3 separate regions of the Homo sapiens genome follow, and all the other regions are linked to region 1. Evidence: promoter capture Hi-C in 16 types of primary human blood cells and fetal thymus (Javierre and others, 2016). All regions are on one chromosome and are shown on one strand. The core of a region is centred on a gene start or on the middle of the fragment in contact, and the rest is flanking DNA. Distances in the headings are between cores, read along the strand shown.

Evidence for each region. The method cuts DNA at HindIII sites, captures the fragments that hold promoters and counts their contacts. A CHiCAGO score of 5 or more calls a contact.
Region 2: the fragment with the promoter of ZNF792 here is called in contact with the fragment with the promoter of SDHAF1 in region 1 in 6 of 17 cell types (activated CD4 T cells, monocytes, total CD4 T cells and 3 more); the score reaches 11.4 in activated CD4 T cells.
Region 3: a contact is called between a fragment that was not itself captured here and the fragment with the promoter of SDHAF1 in region 1, in 1 of 17 cell types (neutrophils). The highest score is 5.1, in neutrophils.

Annotation. Positions count from the first base shown.
Region 1 is chr19:35,992,586-35,997,238 of GRCh38, reverse strand. SDHAF1 (succinate dehydrogenase complex assembly factor 1) reads right to left here and starts at 2,051. Exons shown (of 1, transcript NM_001042631.3): 1 at 927-2,051. The coding sequence starts at 1,964. The coding sequence ends at 1,617. RefSeq lists silencers at 1,595-1,714, 1,745-1,804 and enhancers at 1,865-1,944, 2,205-2,254, 2,589-3,088. The HindIII fragment of the contact is 4,511 bases long and covers 906-4,653 here.
Region 2 is chr19:34,961,958-34,966,610 of GRCh38, reverse strand. It overlaps ZNF792 (zinc finger protein 792), which reads left to right and starts at 2,382. Exons shown (of 4, transcript NM_175872.5): 1 at 2,382-2,981. The coding sequence starts at 2,949. It overlaps LOC124904699 (a long non-coding RNA gene), which reads right to left and starts at 3,185. Exons shown (of 2, transcript XR_007067236.1): 1 at 2,938-3,185. RefSeq lists silencers at 2,621-2,880, 2,991-3,040. The HindIII fragment of the contact is 6,406 bases long and covers 1-3,246 here.
Region 3 is chr19:34,979,709-34,984,361 of GRCh38, reverse strand. No RefSeq gene overlaps it. Among named protein-coding and RNA genes, the nearest start is that of ZNF792, 18 kb to the right of the region's middle. The HindIII fragment of the contact is 6,510 bases long and covers 1-4,653 here.

The sequences.
Region 1 (4,653 bases), core at 802-3,301:
GGATTACAGGTGCCCACCACCACGCCTGGCTAATTTTTGTATTTTTAGTAGAGACGGGGTTTCACCATATTGGCCAGGCTGGTCTGGAACTCCTGACCTCGTGATCCGCCCATCTTGGCCTCCAAAAGTGCTGGGATTACAGGAGTGAGCCACTGCGCCCAGCCTTGGTCTTCTTGCCTAGAAGCCTATCCCGGCAATTAATTCTTCAAACTGCAATTCCACTTTATAACCATTTGGGAATGTGGCTCCCCCACCGGGATTAGGGCAGTGACTGTTTCTCTTCCGTCCATCCTCCCTTTGGTCTGAGGTCTATGCTCCTTACCTGTGGTCCTCCTACCCACAGCTACATCCACAAGAACTCATTTCCACTTATTTAACTGATATGGGTGCAAATATAGCTCAGCGATGCAAAATGCATCCCTCCACAGAATGTCTAGGGCAGGCCCATATGGGGACACCGGAGGGAGTATATCTGTGATCTATGGGGTTCATCTCCCCTCTCCTGCCCCAGGGCCTTGTCGTTCACTGTAGCTGAGGCTGGACCCTTCAGCCAGGTTTGAGAAATTTCCAGGTCTGAGACCCTCACTACTGCCTCAGGGGCTCCGAGCCAGTTCTCAGCTCCACCATTTCCTCTTCCACACAAAGATGTTAAATCACTTGCCCTCCATTAGGGAGCCAACTGGGGTATCTTTGGGGGTTAAGCCAGGATGAGCCCCCTCCACAGATCTGCCCAGGGGAGAAAACTATGCCGCTTCAATCAATGTGCCAGTCTACAGGGCTCCGGAAGGAGTCAGATCCCCACACCTATCACCTCCCAGATGGTCCCTTCCAGGTGTCTGTGTGCGTGTGTGTGTGGTGGCAGGGGGGCTGGGGGTGTTTCAAAAATCCTGAAATATATAAAAGCTTTAAGACCACCAACAGGGAAGTAGACATATCCCCAATTTTATTCCCTTTGTCCAACATTCCGAGAGGGAAGGGGCAAATGAGTCAATGTTGCCCCTCAAAACCATCAAGTAGGGGCCTTTGGGGGTCTTCAGTTGATCAACCAGGGTGATAGACCCCTACCCCTTCCTCATGGTCCTGGCTTGTCACAATTAATGGGGGAAAGTTTTCCAGAAGGGGATTCCGGGCTTCTCACCGCTCATCAGGGCACCTTCCCAAAACGTTCTCAGCAAAAAGTCTGCACTTCTCAGAGTTAAATACAGGAGAGGGGAGACTCCTTGAGGAGCCAGAAGTGGGTATGTTCTCAGGGGTCAAGAGAAGGGCGTCTCAGGCTCTCCCTGTCCACCGGGGGTCGTCCTGGCTCCCCGTACCTTCGGGCAAGTAGCTCTTGGCTTGACACTGTCCAGCCCGCCAGCGTCCCAGGCCGCCCCAAGCCCTCATGGGGGAGGAGCACCGACCTGTCTCCAAGCATCGGAAAAGGCGGGCCTCCCTTGCCGTCCATCACGGGGCTCTCTAGGCCCCCTGCGTCGCCAAGGAGGAGTCTCTGACATCCCCAATTCGTCAAGCTAGTCTCTTAAGACCTCTCACCTTAGGCGGGTTCCCCAGTCCCCCCATGCAGTCAGGCGAGCCTCCTGGCTCCACCACGCCATCGAGCGAGTTCGGCTCTTCGCCTGTCACCGTCCGTCGGGGCGGGTCTCCGGTGCCCCCGTGCTGTCGTGGGGGTTCCTTGGACTGTCGCCGTCGTCAGGCTGGCAACCCACGCCGCCAGGCTCCCCGGTCGGGGCCCGCGGGCGTACGAAGGCGCCCATGGCGGTGGCGTGGCCCGAGCGTAGCAGCTGCAGCTGGCGCCGCCCGCGGCGGTACAGGTACTCGATGCGCAGCACGTCGGACCGCGGCAGGCCCGCATGCTGCCGGAACTCTGCCCGCACTCGCGCCTCGGCGCCCGGCTTCCCACGCCCGGCGCGCAGCAGATCGCGGTACAGGCTCAGAACCTGCCTCTGCAGCCGGCTGTGCCGGCTCATGACCGCGGCTAAGCAGAGACGCTCAGCGAACGACCTGCGAACCGCGGAGCCGCCACACAGCCAGCAAAGGCCAAAGGGCAAAGCCACAGCCACTTCCGCCCAGCGCTTCCCTTGGCCTCCAACTCCCGCCTCCCGCCATCCGGCGCTGCCGCGTCTGACTGGCTGTCGTTGCAGTTACGTAACAGCCGGCTGGGAGAAGTGGGCGGAGTCGCTGGTCGCGGCCTCCCACGTAGGGGACGTGTGTTCTTGAGGGGACAGCAGTTCTGGGGATCCTGGCACCGCCTGGAGGGCGTTATGTGTTCGGACTCCTAGGTCTTGGGTTGGAGGGAACAGAGGGTCCTCACCTAACTCCTGCATTCTGGGAGAAGAGGAAGCTAGGGGTTTTTTTGTGTGTGACGGGGTCTCGCTGTCGCCCAGGCTGGAGTGCAGTGGCGCGATCTTGGCTCACTGCAGCCTCGAACTCCTGGGCCCAAGCGATCCTCCCACCTCAACTCCCCTAGTAGCTGGAACCACAGACGCGCGCAACCGCGCCCGCTATTTATTTATTTATTTATTTATTTATTTATTTATTTATTATTATTATTATTTGCAGAGATGGGTCTCCCTATGTTGCCCAGAATGGCTCGAACTCCTGGGCTCAAACGATTCTCAGCCTCCCAAAGTGTTGGGATTCCAGGCGTGAGCCACCGCGCCCGGCTACCGGTTCGGACTTTGGGTCCCAAGGGCACGGGGCACTGGGAGAGACGCCGGGCACAAGCGTGCTTTTGCCGTCAGTTACTGATTCAAACCATCTTGGGAAGCTCCGTGCGTTCCCTCGTCCGGGGCAGGTCTGTGTCTGGGGTCCCAGCCCTGGGCACGTGCAGAGGGACGAGACCCCGTAGGGAAATGGCTCTCGGCCGGTTGGACAGGCTTCTCGGGCCAGGGGAAGACAAGCAGAGAGAGTGTGGGCGCCAAGCCCCCAGAGGCAGCGTGTGGCTCTAGGAGCTGGGTTGGTCGCGCCCTCTGCGGGTGGGAGTCGGGGCAGTGGACAGCGGTGTTTGGGTCCTTACCGACTGTTAAAGCCCGGAGTCCGGGACACCCTGAACAGTCGACTAGACTGCAACCCCGTTGTCCTCCCAGGAGCTTTAGGTGGTAGGCCGCAATGCCGTTGTTGTCCCCGCGGGCCGCCTGGAGGTGTCCTCGTAGCGCTAGGGAGGCCCGCAAGGACACAGCATCCTCGGGCCCCACCAGCACCGGAGCTTGGGGGACCCCTCCACCCAGCGCGCAACCGCGGCTCTGCACACTTGGGCCGGCAACCAGCTGGGGGGTCCATTCCCCTTCAGAGAGGAGAAGCTGGTCAGGGGCGGGGATTAGGCTTGGAGTCTTGGAGTCAGGGGAGAATCACAAACCACTGTGAATCCTGCCTGGCAGGTGTATGTATCTATCAAAAATACATGTCCTAGAACGGTGGCTCACACCTGTAATTCCAGCACTTTTGGAGGCCGAGGCGGGCGGACCACCTGAGGTCGGGAGATCGACACCAGCCTGATCCACATGGTGAAACTTCTGCCTCTAGGTTCAAGTGATTCTCCCTACCTCAGCCTCCCCAGTAGCTGGAATTACAGGTATGTGCCAGCACACTGGGCTAATTTTTGTATTTTTAGTAGAGGCGGGGTTTCACCATATTGGTGAAACTACAGCCTTGATCTCCTGGGATCAAGCAATCCTCTCGCCTCAACATGTCCAGTGGTTAGGATTACGTGAACATCCCACCACACCCGGCTAATTCTTCTTTTATTGTTTTTTGTAGAGACAGAGTCTCGCTGTGTTGCCCAGGCTTCACTCTGGAATTTTAAATATTTATTTTTTGTTTTGTTTTTAGAGACAGGGTCTTGCTATGTGGCCCAGATTGGTCTTGAACTCCGGCCTCATCCTCCCAAGTAGCTGGGATAATAGGGATGAGCCACCATGCTGGCTTGTACTCTGGAATTTAAACATCTATCTTTTTCCTGTCAAATGACCCTTAATCTCCAAGACAACTATGTCAATCAGCCTAGGGGGACTTTCTTTACTTTCCAGTGGACTCAAGGAGCTGCAAAACCTCAAAGGGAATACTATTGCCTCCTGCCCAGGGCCTGTCAATGGTTTTCTGGTTACAGTCTCTCAGTTTGTCTTTGGGGAACTGGCCCACTCTTATTCTAGGGGATTTCCTGGGTAATATCCCTGCCCTCTGGCTCTGGCTACAGCTCTGTTACATGCCCAGGCCTGGCTACTTAGAGACAAATCAGAATATCCCATCCCCTGACCCCTGTAATTGTTTAGGGATGGGCAAATGACCTCCACTGGGACAATGAGAATCAGACCCGGGACTTCTGTTGAAACTGTGAAGAAAGAAGTGCTGTCTCCCCACTGGGACTGCTAGACTGTACATCATCAACCTGGAGCAGTGGGAGATCACTTCCCGCAGGCAGAGGGGTAGTTTGAAAATGAGGCTGTGGCAGTCTCAGATACCCATTCTCCATTTCTTTCCTAGAATTAGCATTTTTTTTTTTGATATGGAATCTCGCTCTGTCACCCAGGCTGGAGTGCAGTGGCGTGATCTCCATTCACTGCAACCTCTGCCTCCCGGGTTCAAGCGATTCTCCTGCCTCGGCCTTCTGAGTAGCTGGGACTACAGGGATGCGCCACCACATCCGGCTAATTTTTGTAT
Region 2 (4,653 bases), core at 1,133-3,632, 1.0 Mb after region 1:
TGGGTTTTTTTGTTTGTTTTTGTTTTTGAGATGGAGTCTCGCTCTGTTGCCCGGGCTGGAGGCGATCTCAGCTCACTGCAAGCTCTACCTCCCGGGGTTCATGCCATTCTCCTGCCTCAGCCTCCTGAGTAGCTGGGACTACAGGTGCCCGCCACCACACCTGGCTAATTTTTTGTATTTTTAGTAGAGACAGGGTTTCACCATGTTAGCCAGAATGGTCTCGATCTCCTGAACTCGTGATCCGCCTGCCTCGGCCTGCCAAAGTGCTGGGATTACAGGGGTGAACCACCATGCCCGGCCTAGAGGGAAAGGGCTGTTATCTTTGCTTCAAAGTTAAACTGTAAACTGAGTTTCTCCCAAAGTTAGTTAGGCCTATGCTCAGGAACGAACAAGGACAGCTTGGAGGTTAGAAGCAAGATGGAGTTGGTTAGGTCAGATCTCTCACTGTCATAATTTTCTCAGTTATAATTTTTACAAAGGTGGTTTCACCATATGACATGTAGTATCGGGGGAACCCACCCCCGATAATTCAATGTGGGTTCTTTTCTATTTTCCCTAAGTGTCGGCTGGTCTGAGAAATAAAGGGAAAGAGTACAAAAGAGATAAATTTTAAAGCTGGGTGTCTGGGGGAGACATCACATGTCAGCAGGTTCCGTGATGCCCCCGAGCCATAAAACCAGCAAGTTTTTATTGGCAATTTTCAAAGGGGAGGGAGTGTACGAATAGGGTGTGGGTCACAGAGATCACATGCTTTAAGGGCAACAAAAGATCACAAGGCAGAAGGTCAGGGCGAGATCACAAGGTCAGGGCAAAACTAGAATCACTCATGAGCTTCCATGTCCTGCTGTGCACGCATTGTCATTTATAAACATCTTAACAGGGTTCAAGAGCAGAGAACTGGTCTGACTAGAGTTCGCCAGGCTGGAATTTCCTAATCCTAGCAAGCCTGGGGGCGCTGCAGGAGACTAGGGTGTGTTTCATCCCTATCTACATGTGCATAAGGCAGACACTCCCAGGGCAGCCATTTTAGAGGCACTGCCCTGGGAATGCATTATTTTCCCAGGGCTGTTAATTATTAATATTCCTTACTGGGGAAAGAATTCAGCGATATTTCTCTTACCCGTTTTTGGTAATAGGAGAAATATGGCTCTGTCCTGCCCGTCCCACAGGCAGCCAGACTTTAAGGTTATCTCCCTTGTTCCCTGAAAATCGCTGTTATCCTGTTCTTAAGGTGCCCAGATTTCATATTGTTCAAACACACATGCCCTACAAACAATCTGTGCAGTTAACGCAATCATCACAGGGTCCTGAGATGACATACATCCTCAGCTTACGAAGATGACAGGATTAAGAGATTAAAGTAAAGTCAGGCATAGGAAATCACAAGAGTATTGATTGGGGAAGCGATACATGTCCATGAAATCTTCACAATTTATGTTCAGAGATTGCAGTAAAGACAGGCATAAGAAATTATAAAAGTATTAATTTGGGGAACTAATAAATGTCCATGAAATCTTCACAATTAATGTTCTTCTGTCACGGCTTCAGCAGGTCCCTCCGTTCGGGGTCCCTGACTTCCTGCAACAATGTAGTGTTATTTTTCCCATTTTATTTACTGGATTTCAATGAGAGTCCCTGCTGTAAAGTTGGAGCCAGCATTGGAGTCCCCAGAGGGCTTGTTAAAACAGAGAAGGAGGCCTGGCACCATGGCTCACTCCTGCAATTCCCAACACTTTGGGAGGCCGAGGTGAGAGGATCACTTGAGCTCAGGAGTTTGAGACCAGCCTAGGCATCACAGGGAGATCCAGTCTCTACAAAAAATTTTAAAATTAGCTGTGTATGATGGTGCACGCCTGTATCCCATCTACCTGGTAGGCTGAGGCAGGAGGATAGCTTGAGCCCGAGATGGAGGCTGCAGTGAGCTATGATCAGGCCACTGCACTCCAGCCTGGACAACAGAACGAGACCCATCCCCCCCGCCCCCCCCGCAAAAAGTAGAGAAGGCTGAATCCCATCCCCAGAATTTCTGAGTCCTTAGATTTAAGTTGTTGCCCCAGAACCTGCATTTTCAGCCAGTCCCCAGGTGATGCTGATGTTGCTGGTTTGAGAAGCCCTGAATCAGAGCGACATTTAATATTACAACGCAAAGACCCCGCCCATTGGGTACTATCCCCATTTTCCAGTGTGAATTTAGGTCCCTTAGGGGTGAAGCGGCTGGCCGATGCCCACACGCGCAGGAAGAGCACTGGGGCTCTCCTCCTGGACCTCGGAGGGTGGGCGGGGTTTAGCGCGGGCGGCTGCAGGCTCGGGAGCGGCCCCTTTAAGGGGAAGGCCCGAGGGCTGCAGGCGGCGGCGGTGGAGACCCGACGAGATCCGCTCTCCTTCCCGCCCTGGACCCTCAGCCTGACGAGAGGCTGGGCAGAAACTCGCGATCCCCAGGCCCTGCCTGTGCACCAGCGGCTGGCGCCAGGCCAATGACAGTACGGGAGAGGGCAACTCTCCCGGCCGCCACGGTGGGGGCCGGAACTTCCTGCACTGCAGCCTCGCAGGTCATTTCCCGGCGGGGAGGCTGAGTCCCCAGGAGCTGGGGACCCCGAGTTGGGGGCGGGGCGGCTGGGGCTACGCCCGTGAAGCTGCCCCGCCGGCTTTCCCGGACCGCGAGGGGGACAGTGAGGCCGGGACCCCCTCCGCGCCTTTGCACCAGCCGTGACCCCTTGCAACGGGGGTACCCAGCGGAGCTGCGCGCTCTCGGCGCCCCCGGAGCCTGCGCCCCGGGCCCCTTGCGCATTTTGCACGGGGGAGACTGAGGCTAGGAGTGCGACCCTCAGCCCGGGGTCACACCTCGTCTGGGGCACGGCCAGGTGGGTGGTAGCCTCAGCCTGCGAGACCCCCTACCCCCGCCCCGTGGTTTCCCGCACCGTGGGGCCCTGCTCTGACCACAGACTCCGATGGCAGCGGCGGCGCTGCGGGACCCCGCGCAGGTGAGTGCTTGGACGTTAGGCCCTTCGCTGTCGGCCCCCCACGCTTCTGTTCTCGGTGTTGAGACGCAAAAGATGGCTTTGTTCTAGGACTTTTCGCCTTTCCCATTTCCTTGCTTTTGAGTCAGGGGACCCTGGAAGGGAGTTGCTCCCAGCTAGGATCCTGAATCAGGGCAGGGTTTATATAAAGTGGCTTCCGTTGCTGAAATGTAATGGGATGGAGGGAGAAAGGGCTTTGTAGGCACAGGAACCAGCGTGCGCAAAAGCTTGGGGGTGGGGTGGGGCACGGTGTGGAGACTGAGTTGGGAGTGTTCAAGGAACCCCACCCAGGTCAGTGTTATTAATATTATGTCTGCTGGAACCAGAGAGCAGGTGGGCTGAAGACAGCTCAGAACGGCAGAGCTGGGCCTCTGTTCTGAGGGTGTTGGGAGCCATGGAAGGTTTAGGGCAGAGGAGGAAGATGCTGTGACTCAGGTCTTAACAGGCTCCCTGTGGATGCACAGTGGAGAACTGAATATGGAGTGAGCCGCAAGCAGGGATGCCAAGGAGTAGCCTAATGGAATAGCCCAGGCCAGTGCTGCGGCTGGCCGGACCAGAGTGAGGACTGGAGGTAGAGGAAGTGATTGGGAACTTGATGTCTTTTAAGTCAAGCTGACCAAATTTTCCGATGTGGAGGGTGAGAAAGAGGAGGGAAGAATCCATGGTTTTTGGTTTGATGAATCCAGCTTTATGAACTGAGAAGTTGGTTTTAGGAGGAATTTTCCATGGAAGCAGTAGAAGTTAGGTTTTGGCCAAGTTGAGCCTGTGATGTCCCAGAGACCCCCAAATGGAGTTGAAGAGTGGGCCGCTGAACACACAGTTCGGGTGTTCTGAGGGAGTTGTTAAGGTAATGAGAGACTGGATATTCATTCGAACAATGGCCAGATCATGTATACAAATAGAACTCTGCCCCAGAACCTGCCCAGGAAACCAACCCCCTTATCTACAATAAACAACCCATACAGCAGGAAGCCAGCCTGCTGTCTGTCAGACCCACAGGAAGCCAGATTGCTATCTGGACTGACAATCCAGGAAGTAAAAACAATAACTTCTGTAATGAGCAGTCCCAAATGGCCAGGGTTTGATTAATAACAGACAGCTTTCCTCATTTTTGCTCCTGCTTCTGATTTAAGAACAACCAGAGAAAGGCAGATACGCACCCTAACCAATCACATAGGATGCCCACTTCTAGTTCACCCACCTACGAACAGGAGCCTCCAACCAGGGCACGCCTGAAGCCTTCCTTTTCTTTTGCTATAAAACTCTCCCACTCCCGGCTTGCATTGAGTCTCTCTTGCTATAGTGAGCTTTGAGTAAGTAGCCTTGGCTTTTCTCATTTCATTGGTCTTTGTTTATTTCAACAGTTAGAAACATCCAAAATGTGACATCTGGTGTGTGGACGGGAGTGTAGCTGTGTGTGAGATTTAGGAGGTGAAACTTCAGGTCATGGTGACAATGATGTTAAAAAAAAGAGGAAGGTGGGGCTGGAAAACTGAGAGCAGGGTTCTTGCTTGGGGACTGTGGCTTGTTTGGCATCATAAAGACAGGTGAGGAACAGTAGTGGTCATGGTGGTGATGGAGGGGCTATGTGGGTGTATCAGAGGGTCTGGCAGGTGGCCAGATCATCCCAAAGAGT
Region 3 (4,653 bases), core at 828-3,327, 1.0 Mb after region 1:
CTGAAATATTTTGTATGAACATATCCCCCTAAAGGAAATTCTTAAAAAATTAGGTCAGAAGAAAGAAAAGCAATATCAGAGGGAAAATATGAGCTGTAAGATGGAATAACAAGCAATGAAAATGATAAATGTGTGGGTAAATCTAAACGGACAGTGATTGTTTTAGTCCATTTTTTGTTGGTATAACAGAATATACCACTATAAATTACAGACTGGGTAATTTATAGTGAACAGAAATTTATTTAGCTCATGGTTCTGGAGGCTGAAAAGTCCAATACCGAGTGGGTGGCATCTGGTTGGCTTCGGGGGAGGGGCTAGTGCTGCATCATAACATGATGGAAAAGCAGAAGAGAAGCAGGTGTGTGTCAAAGGGGCAAAACTTAAGGGGAACCTCACTTTATAACAGCCTGCCCTTGCAATAACCAATCCAGTCCCAAAAGAGTGAGAACTCACTGCCTCCAGAATTAACCCAGTCTCGAGAGAATGGCATCAGTCTCTCTTAATGACCAAATCACCTCTTAAAAGTCCCGTCACCCAACACCACCACACTGGGGACCAAAGTGGGAGGATCTCTTAAGACCAGGAGTTTGAGATCAGCCTGGGCAACATAGTGAAACCCTATCTCTATTAAAAAATTAACAGGGCATGGTGGTACAAGTGGTACAAGCCTGCAGTCCTAGCTACTTGGGAGGCTGAGGCAGGAGGATTGCTTGAGCCCCGGAGTTTGAGGCTGCAGTGGGCTATGATAGTGCCACTGCACTCCAGCCTGAGTGACAGAGCGAGAATTTGTCTCTTTTTTTTTTTTTTTTTTTGAGATGGAGTCTCTCTGTGACGCCCAGGCTGGAGTGCAGTGGCTCAATCTCGGCTCACTGCAAGCTCCGCCTCCCGGGTTCACGCCATTCTCCTGCCTCAGCCTTCCGAGTAGCTGGGACCACAGGTGCCCACCACCACGCCTGGCTAATTTTTTGTATTTTTAGTAGAGAAGGGGTTTCACCGCGTTAGCCAGGATGGTCTCGATCTCCTGACCTTGTGATCCGCCCGCCTCGGCCTCCCAAAGTGCTGGGATTACAGGCATGAGCCACCGTGCCCAGCCGCTGAGAATTTGTCTCTAAAAAACAATGACAAACTAAAAGGAAAACTTCTGGAAAGCAGAATAAAAGACAAAAGTGGATAATAAGAGACAATATAAGAAAATTAGAGGATAAATTCAGAAATTCCAAAAAAGAGAAAACAGAAACTCCAGTAGTGAAGAAAGTATTAAAGAAATGTCCCCATAACTGAAAGAAATTTGAAGAGCCTGCAGAGTGCTCCACAATTGTTAAAATATGGTAATAATATTTCAGAACATCAGTTCTAGAGGTTTCCAGAGAGAGAAAAAAAAAAAGCCAAACAGATCACAGTCAAAGGATCACAGGTGGGAGGACATTGGACACTCTGGGGAAAAACTGCTGTTTAACCTGGACTTCTATCAAATTATCACTCAAGTGGAAACAGGGTTAGACATTTTCAGACAAACAAAGTCTCAAAAAGTTTCCTCCCAAACAGTCTTTCTCAGGAAGCTCCTGGAAGATATTTTCACCCTAAACAAGGGAGTAAACCAGGAAAGAGAAAATGGAGGACCAACATGACTAGATGGTGAAGTGAAGTCCCAGCAGGAGAATCATGCAGCTGGCTTGAAGAAAGTATAGATTGGAGCAGAAGGACAGAGATTGGAGTTTAAATTATTCAAAGCAGAGAAAAGGACAAATCTCAACTACAGTTGTAAAGAAAAGCAAAAAGTTTGCATGAGAAAGAAATGTAAGGACAGCGCACGACATAGCTCATCTCTAACATTTTCCTGATCTCCATAACATAATCAGTGAACTTAATAAAAATCATGACATGACAATTCTGGGAGGATTGAAGGGGGGGGAAGGAAATATGTGTGTGGGAGAGGAGTGAAAAGAGCGAATTCATCATCTTCTAGTAAAAAGTAAGTTGATAATATATAACATTCAAATTCAAGACTGTATATAAACCTGCTATTTATAAACGTGGAGCCGGGCACAGTGGCTCATGCCTGCAATTCCAGCACTTTGGGAGGCTGAGATGGGCGGATCACTTGAGGTCAGGAGTTCGAGACCAGCCTGGCCAACACGGTGAAACCCTGTCTCTACTAAAAATACAAAAATTAGCCTGGTGTGGCGGTGCATGCCTGTAATCCCAGTTACTTGAGAGGCTGAGGCTGGAGAATTGCTTGAACCCGGGCGGCAGAGGTTGCAGTGAGCGGAGATGGCACTGCTGCACTACAGCCTGGGCAACAGAGTGAAATTCCAACTCAAAAAAAAAAAAAAAAGGAGATGAAAATAGAACTATGCACTAAAAGAGAGAGTGGCTAATTCTGGAGAGGGGGATGGGGTGGGACGGCATGGAGTAGAGAAGAGAGCTGCTGGGTTTAGAAATCTTGTTGAATTCTTTGACTTTTGCTATTGTGCATTTATATGACTGATTAGAATTAAAATTTTAAAAGTTTGCAACTGGTAGAGCCAAGAATTTTGAGTTTAAGAATCCCAAACTGATGGAAATACTTATAATACACACAAAAATTTTTGTTTACGGATGGCCTAGGCAGTATAGTTTGCAATGAGGACAAAGAAAAAAAATGCGTTGTGTTTGATATTTACAGGATATTATTAATGGGACATTATAATTAATTGTTTTATTTTCCCCACTGCTGACATGCCTGTGTGAATTTGCTAAGCTAGTGGTTTGATGACTTATTTGTAATGCACTTTTAGAGCATCGTAAACACCTAATAAACACATGTGGAATACAGGTGTTTCAAAACGATAAGTAACAAAAAAGAGACACATTTTATTGTATATAAACTATCCTTCAATAATACTGATTAAAATGCAAAAGAGATATTAGAATATGCAAATTATTCAGCAACATAAAGCAATAATAGAAGAGCCAAAAGACGAAAATGATTGATTATGGGATGTGGATGCAAGGTAGAGGACAGTTATTTATTTATATGTCTTTTATTGTTTGTTTGTTTATTTATTTATTTTTTGTGACAGGGTCTTGCTCTGTCACCCAGGCTGGAGTGCAATGATGCCATCCCAGCTCACTGCAGCCTTGGTCTTCCATGCCCAAGCCATCCTCCCACCCCAGCCTCTTGAGTAGCTGGGACTACAGGCACATGCCACCATGCCTGGCTAATTTTTGTATTGTTTGTAGGCATGGAGTCTCACCATCTTGCCCAGGCTGGTCTCAAAACCCTGGGTTCATTCCGTCTGCCTGCCGGTCTCCCAAAGTGCTGGAATTACAGATGGGAGCCACTGGACCCAGCCATGTCTTTTAATGCTGCATGATATTTAAATGTTAAATATGTATATTTTAGCACTACTTCATATATACTCATTACATAAGGTAAGTACAGTTATAAAGTAAATAAAGGCTGGGCGCAGTGGCTCATGCTGTAATCCTAGCACTTTGGGAGGCTGGTCAGGAGATCAAGACCAGCCTGGCCAACATGGGGAAACCCCATCTCTACTAAAAATACAAAAATTAGCTGGGCAGGGTGGCACATGCCTAGCTACTCGGGTGGCTGAGGCAGGAGAATCACTTGAACCTGGGAGGCGGAGCTTGCAATGAGCCGAGATGGCGCCACTGCACTCCAGCCTGGGCAACAGAGTGAGACTTCATCTCAAAAAAAAAAAAAGTAAATACGGCACATAGATGTGTTATGCATAATATATATATGTATGTATGTATGTATGTATGTACGCTGGGTCTAGAATTTGAAAGGCACCTGAAAATATAATGCTTAATTTTTCAAACACTTATTTTGTGATTAGAACGAAGACAATGCATAGTGGATGACGTTACTGCCTTTCTATTCTATCACTATCTATGCACCATGTCCAAAAGGTCATGAACTGCCACTGGGTGAAGGCAGATCTCGGAGTCTGTTTGTTATATGCAGGGACTCAATGACACTCACTGGCTGCAGTACACCCGTGAGGTAGGAGGTGGGCTCAACTCCAGAGGTGAGGCTCAGACACCTGACCAAACTGAGAACTAGCTAAAACAGGGACGGGAGGGAAGCAGTTTTCCATAAGACACACCCACCAGTGCGCCATGTCAGTTTACCATTGCCATGGCAACACCGGAGAGTCACCACCCCTTTCCATGGCAATGATATAATGACCCCAAAGCTACTACCCCTTCCCTAGAAATGTCTGCATAAACTGCCCCTTAATCTACGTGCAATTAAATGTGAGCATAAATCTGACTGCAGAACTGCTCTGAGCTGCTGCTGTCTGCCTACGGGACCGGGTAGTCCTGCTCTGCAGGAGCAGTCATGGAGCTGTAACACGGCTTCTTCAATGAGCCTCTTTTCTTCTACCCTACCACTGGCCCATACTGCTCACCCTTGAATTCTTTCTTGAGCAAAGCCAAGAACCCTCACATGCTAAGCCCCAGTTTGGGGGTCACCTGTCCTGAATCAAGTTGGGAGAACTTGAAGATTCCTCCAGAAAGAAATATGTAAACTGGATGGTGCTCTCCTCATCATGCTGAGAGCTCTCTCTCCCCTGGTGCTCGGCTCCTGGCCACCTCTGCCTCCAGCCAGACTAGGTGCTCCTAGTCAGACCTGATCCTCAGCAA